Linked DNA regions of Homo sapiens: region 2 is linked to region 1. Evidence: promoter capture Hi-C in human tissues and cell types (Jung and others, 2019). All regions are on one chromosome and are shown on one strand. The core of a region is centred on a gene start or on the middle of the fragment in contact, and the rest is flanking DNA. Distances in the headings are between cores, read along the strand shown. Region 1 holds the start of PLVAP (plasmalemma vesicle associated protein). Region 2 has its middle 12 kb from the start of KCNN1.

What was found. Contacts are between HindIII fragments. The study calls those that stand out against the background at their distance.
Region 2: a fragment that was not itself captured here is called in contact with the fragment with the promoter of PLVAP in region 1 in 1 of the 25 tissues and cell types used here (dorsolateral prefrontal cortex).

Annotation. Positions count from the first base shown.
Region 1 is chr19:17,376,041-17,378,740 of GRCh38, reverse strand. PLVAP (plasmalemma vesicle associated protein) reads left to right here and starts at 1,399. Exons shown (of 6, transcript NM_031310.3): 1 at 1,399-1,821. The coding sequence starts at 1,453. The HindIII fragment of the contact is 34,336 bases long and covers 1-2,700 here.
Region 2 is chr19:17,953,671-17,956,370 of GRCh38, reverse strand. It overlaps a transcript of KCNN1 not described here. Among named protein-coding and RNA genes, the nearest start is that of KCNN1, 12 kb to the left of the region's middle. The HindIII fragment of the contact is 4,437 bases long and covers 1-2,700 here.

The sequences.
Region 1 (2,700 bases), core at 150-2,649:
GATTACAGGTGCTCGCCACCACACACGGCTAATTTTTGTATTTTTAGTGGAGATGGGGTTTCACCATATTGGCCAGGCTGGTCTCGCACTCCTGACCTCAGGTGATCCGCCTGCCTCAGCCTCACAAAGTGCTGAGATTACAGGTGTGAGCCACTATGCCCGGCCGCCCATGGGGTTTTGAGTGTCGGGGGAGGAATCTCAGTCCCACGTATCCACCACTTGTCATTCACCATCTCACGGAGCCCCCAGCAGTGCCTCCAGCAGGAAATGATCCTAATCATAACAACAGCCACAGAGTGACGAGGCACTGGGTATACCCCGTCTCACAAAGGGGAAAAGGGAGGCACAGACATGCGAGGCCTCTTGCCCGAGCTCTCCCGGGACAAAGCCAGCTCTTCCCCGCTCCAAGTTCATTATTCCTTGTGCTGCAGTTTCCTGGAGCATTTACTGAGCATCTAAGTGAACAGGGCACTGGGGGCAATGACAGAGCTTGGGGAGCCAGCGCCACCGCCATCCATGGCTCAGCCCTCCGTGACGCCCTCCTATGCAATTACTAATCACCTACTGCTTCTCCATCCCTAGGCTAGCTAAGAGTTTCACACTTTTTCTGTTTTTTTTTTTTTTTGAAACAGAGTCTTGCTCTATACCCCAGGCTGGAGTGCAATGGCACGATCTCTGCTCACCGCAACCTCCGACTCCTGGGTTCAAGCGATTCTCCTGCCTCAGCCTCCTGGGTAGCTGGAATTACAGGCGAGCACCACCACACCTGGCTAAGTTTTGTATTTTTAGTAGAGACGGGGGGTTTCACCACGGTGACCGGGTTGGTCTCAAACTTCTGACCTCAGGTGATCCGTCCGCCTCAGCCTCCCAAAGTGCTGGGATTATAGGCGTGAGCCACCGTGCCTGGCACATTTCCCACGTTTTGTGGCACTTAATCAGCACCGCCCTGGTGAAGTGGGTGCACGTCTGTAGCCAGCCTGTCTTGAGGTAAGTCAAGTTCGCTGAACTAACAGCGTGAGACCCCGAGGCAACCCCTTCTCCTCCCTGTGCCTCAGTTTCCTCCGCCACACAAGGGAGACAGCAACAGACCTGGCATGATTCAGCGACCTAATCACAGCAGGTACTGAGAACAGCACCCGCCAGCAAGTAAAGGCGAACGCGAGGCTCGAAGAGGCCAGGAATGCCTGACCAGCCAGCCAGCGCCCCACCCAGCATTAATCAGAGGGGTCCAGCCGGTGCCCTGGCTCTGGGCCCCCAGCCCCACCCCCGCCTTCTCACAGCCAGAGTGGGAGTGTTGTGATAACCCGCAGCCCCCGTTTCCTCCGGGCCAGGAAGGAGCCAGGCAGAGGAAGTATTAAGAGGAGTAATATAAGCACTCCCCCCTGCGAGGCGGGGGCCAGAGCAGGCCTGGTGGTGAGCAGGGACGGTGCACCGGACGGCGGGATCGAGCAAATGGGTCTGGCCATGGAGCACGGAGGGTCCTACGCTCGGGCGGGGGGCAGCTCTCGGGGCTGCTGGTATTACCTGCGCTACTTCTTCCTCTTCGTCTCCCTCATCCAATTCCTCATCATCCTGGGGCTCGTGCTCTTCATGGTCTATGGCAACGTGCACGTGAGCACAGAGTCCAACCTGCAGGCCACCGAGCGCCGAGCCGAGGGCCTATACAGTCAGCTCCTAGGGCTCACGGCCTCCCAGTCCAACTTGACCAAGGAGCTCAACTTCACCACCCGCGCCAAGGATGCCATCATGCAGATGTGGCTGAATGCTCGCCGCGACCTGGACCGCATCAATGCCAGCTTCCGCCAGTGCCAGGGTGACCGGGTAAGGCTGTGGGCAGGACACTCGCCCTGGGGACCCTGAGCAAGCCCCCTCACCTCTCTGAGCCTGAGTTTCCTCATCCAAGAGAGGGGGACGATCACAGGACCAATGCTCTCTTTTCTTATGAGACAGAGTCTCGCTCCGTCTCCCAGGCTGGAGTGCAGTGGTGCAATCTCGGCTCACTGCAACCTCTGCCTCCTGGGTTGGAGTGATTCTCCTGCCTCAGCCTCCCGAGTAGCTGGGATTACAGGCATGTGCCATCATAACCGGCTCATTTTTGTATTTTTAGTAGAGATGGGGTTTCACCATGTTGGCCAGGCTGGTCTCAAACTCCTGACCTCAAGTGATACGCCTGCCTTGGCCTCCCAAATTGTTGGGATTACAAGCGTGAGCCACTGCACCCGGCCGATAGATTTTTTTTTTTTCCTTAAGAGACAGGGTCTCCATGTGTATCCTGGGCTGGATGGAGTGCAATTGCTATCACAGCTCACTGCAACCTCAATCTCCTGGACTCAAGTGATCCTCTTGCCTCAGCCTCCTGAGTAGCTGGGACTACAGGCGTGCACCACCACACCCAGCTAATATGTTTATATTTAGCAGAGATGAGGTCTCACTATGTTGCCCAGGCTAGTCTCGAACTCCTGGGCTCAAGCAATCCTCTCACCCCAGCCTCCCAAACTGCTGGGATTACAGGTGTGGGGCACTGCGTCCAGCTAAATTTTTTTTATTTCTTTTCTTTTTTTTGGAGGCAGGGTCTCACTCTGTCACCCAGGCTGGAGCACAGTGATGTGAGCATAGCTCACTGAAGCCTTGACATCCTGGGCTCCAGCAATCCTCCTGCCTCAGCCTTTTGAGTAGCTGGCACTATGGACATGCCACTAT
Region 2 (2,700 bases), core at 64-2,563, 580 kb before region 1:
CTAGGGCCTGGCAGACAGTAGCTAGCTTGCTCAGTGTTTGTTGATTGACTAAATGACCACCACCTCTGTTTTCTCCACACCCCCATGGGCAGCTTAGTGCTGACCCTGGATGTCAGTCAGTGTTCACCAAGGAGGCCTGGCTCAGTGGCTCACGCCTGCAATCCCAGCACTTTGGGAGGCCAAGACAGGTGGATCACCTGAGGTCAGGAGTTCGAGACCAGCCCGGCCAACATGGGGAAACCCCATCTCTACTGAAAACACAAAAATTAGCTGTGCGTGGTGACGCATGCCTGTAATCCCAGCTACTTGGGAGGCTGAAGCAGGAGAATCGCTTGAACCCGGTGGGGTGGAGGGTGGAGGTTGCAGTGAGCCAAGATCATGCCACTGCGCTCCAGCCTGGGCGACAGAGTCAGACTCTGTCTCAAAACAAACAAACAAAACAAAACAAAACAAAACTAAAAAAAAAAAGTTCACTGGAGAAAGGAGCACAGGAGCTGCCTTCCACAGAGCTGGCCTACCCTGGGGGCTGTCTCCAGCGAGACCACGAGAGCCGGGAAGTAGAGGCTGTGTGTGGGGGGCGGGGGCGGGAGTGGTGGGACAGAGCTCTTCCAACCTGGCTCAACACCCCACTTCTAGGTCATCTGGCCTCTCTGAATAGTTTCCCCAACTCCAGTGATCAAAGAAAGTGGACAGTAACTCCCCGGAGGCTCTAGAAAGCATAGTCCTTGCTATCATCATCATGATATATATGATATAATAATAATTATATTATTATTTTTTTTCTTTCTTTCTTTTTTTTTTTTTTTTTGGAGATGGAGTTTCACTCTTGTTGCCCAGGCTGGAGTGCAATGGCACAATCTCGGCTCACTGCAACTTCCGCCTCCTGGGTTCAAGTGATTCTCCTGCCTTAGCCTCCCAAGTAGCTGGGATTACAGGCATGCAGCACCATGCCTGGCTAATTTTGTATTTTTAGTAGAGATGGGGGTTTCACCCTGTTGGCCAGGCTGGTCTCGAACTCCTGACCTCAGGTGATCTGCCTGCCTTGGCCTCCCAAAGTGCTGGGATTACAAGCGTAAGCCACCACGTCTGGCCTTTTTTCTTTTTTTTTTTTTTAATTAAAGAGATGGGGGTCTCGCTCTGTCGCCTAGGCTGGAGTGCAGTGGCCATTCACAAGCGTGATCATAGCTCACTGCAGCCTCGAACTCCTGGACTCGATACTCCCACCTTAGCCTTCCGAGTAGCTAGGACCACAGGTGCACGCCACTGTACCCAGCTTGTTATTATTTCAAAAGCTGGCACTTTTTCCTCAGGTCACCTTTTTTTTTTTTTTTTTGAAACAGAGCTTTGCTCTGTCGCCCAGGCTGGAGTGCAGTGGCGCGATCTTGGCTCACTGCAACCTCTGCCTCCCGGATTCAAGTGGTCCTCCTGCCTCAGCCTCCCAAGTAGCTAGGATTGCAGGTGCCCACCACCATCCCCGGGCAATTTTTGTATTTTTAGTAGACACGGGGTTTCGCCATGTCGGCCAAACTGGCCTCAAACTCCTGACCTCAAGTGATCCACCTGCCTCAGCCTCCCAAAGTGCTGGGATTACAGGCGTGAGCCACCTAGCCTGCCCAGTTACCAATTTTTCTATCCAACCCCTGAGCCACCCCCACCCCCAAAGGCGACCCAAGTCTGGGATTCACTCACCCTAGGGTGCAGGGGTCTCCTCGCCGAGCCACTGCAAAGGGGCTGTCCCCTTCAGTCCTGCTGGTGACCACTTGACTGGGAGAGAGGGTGGCTGCTGCTGCCTTTCCTGTCCCTTTGAGATCTGTAATGATCAGACAGGGGGTGCGGGGTGGAGGCGGGGACCCAAAAGAGTAGGGTGCAGACAGCTCCCGGACTACAGTGGTCTTTCTTATTTTTTATTTTTTTGAGACAGAGTCTTGCTCTGTCACCCAGGCTGGAGTGTAGTGATGTGATCTCAGCTCACTGCAACTGCCGCCTCCAGGGTTCAAACAATTCTCCTGCCTCAGCCTCCCAAGCATCTGGGATTACAGGTGCCTGCCACCATGCCCGGCTACTTTTTGTATTTTTAGTAGAGATGGGGTTTTGCTGTGTTGGCCAGGCTGGACTTGAACTCCTGGCCAGAGGTGATTCACCTGCTTCAGCCTATTACGTACAATGGTCTTTACAGCAGATCTGCGCTCTGGCTTGGTGTTGCTGAGCTGGGTCATCTCCTAAGCTTTCAGGAAGCTTAAGAACAGTGGCTTTATCACTCCAATGGGGCCCTGGGCTAGCCCCACCTCTTCCATGTCCCCTCCCTAAGGCCACTCCTCCTTTCACTGGGCTCCAGAAGCTAGACACTGAATGCTTTATCTGTCTTTCCCAATGCTGTTCCTGCTCACCCCCTCACATTGCCCCTAGTTCCTTCGCCATGGGGAGATCTAGGTGGGTGACATTCAGGGAGGTGACATTTTGTCACCCAGGCTGGAGTGCAGTCGCATGAACATGGCTCACTGCAGCCTTGACTTCCCGGGCTCAAGCGATCCTCCCACCTTCGGCCCCCAAGTAGCTTGGACTACAAGTGTGCACCACTACACCTGGCTAATTTTTTTAATTTTTTGTAGAGACAGGGTTTCAGTACGTTGCCCAGGCTGGTCTCGAACTCCTGAGCTTGCCTCGCCCTTCCAAAGTGTTGGGATTACAGTTGTGAACCAC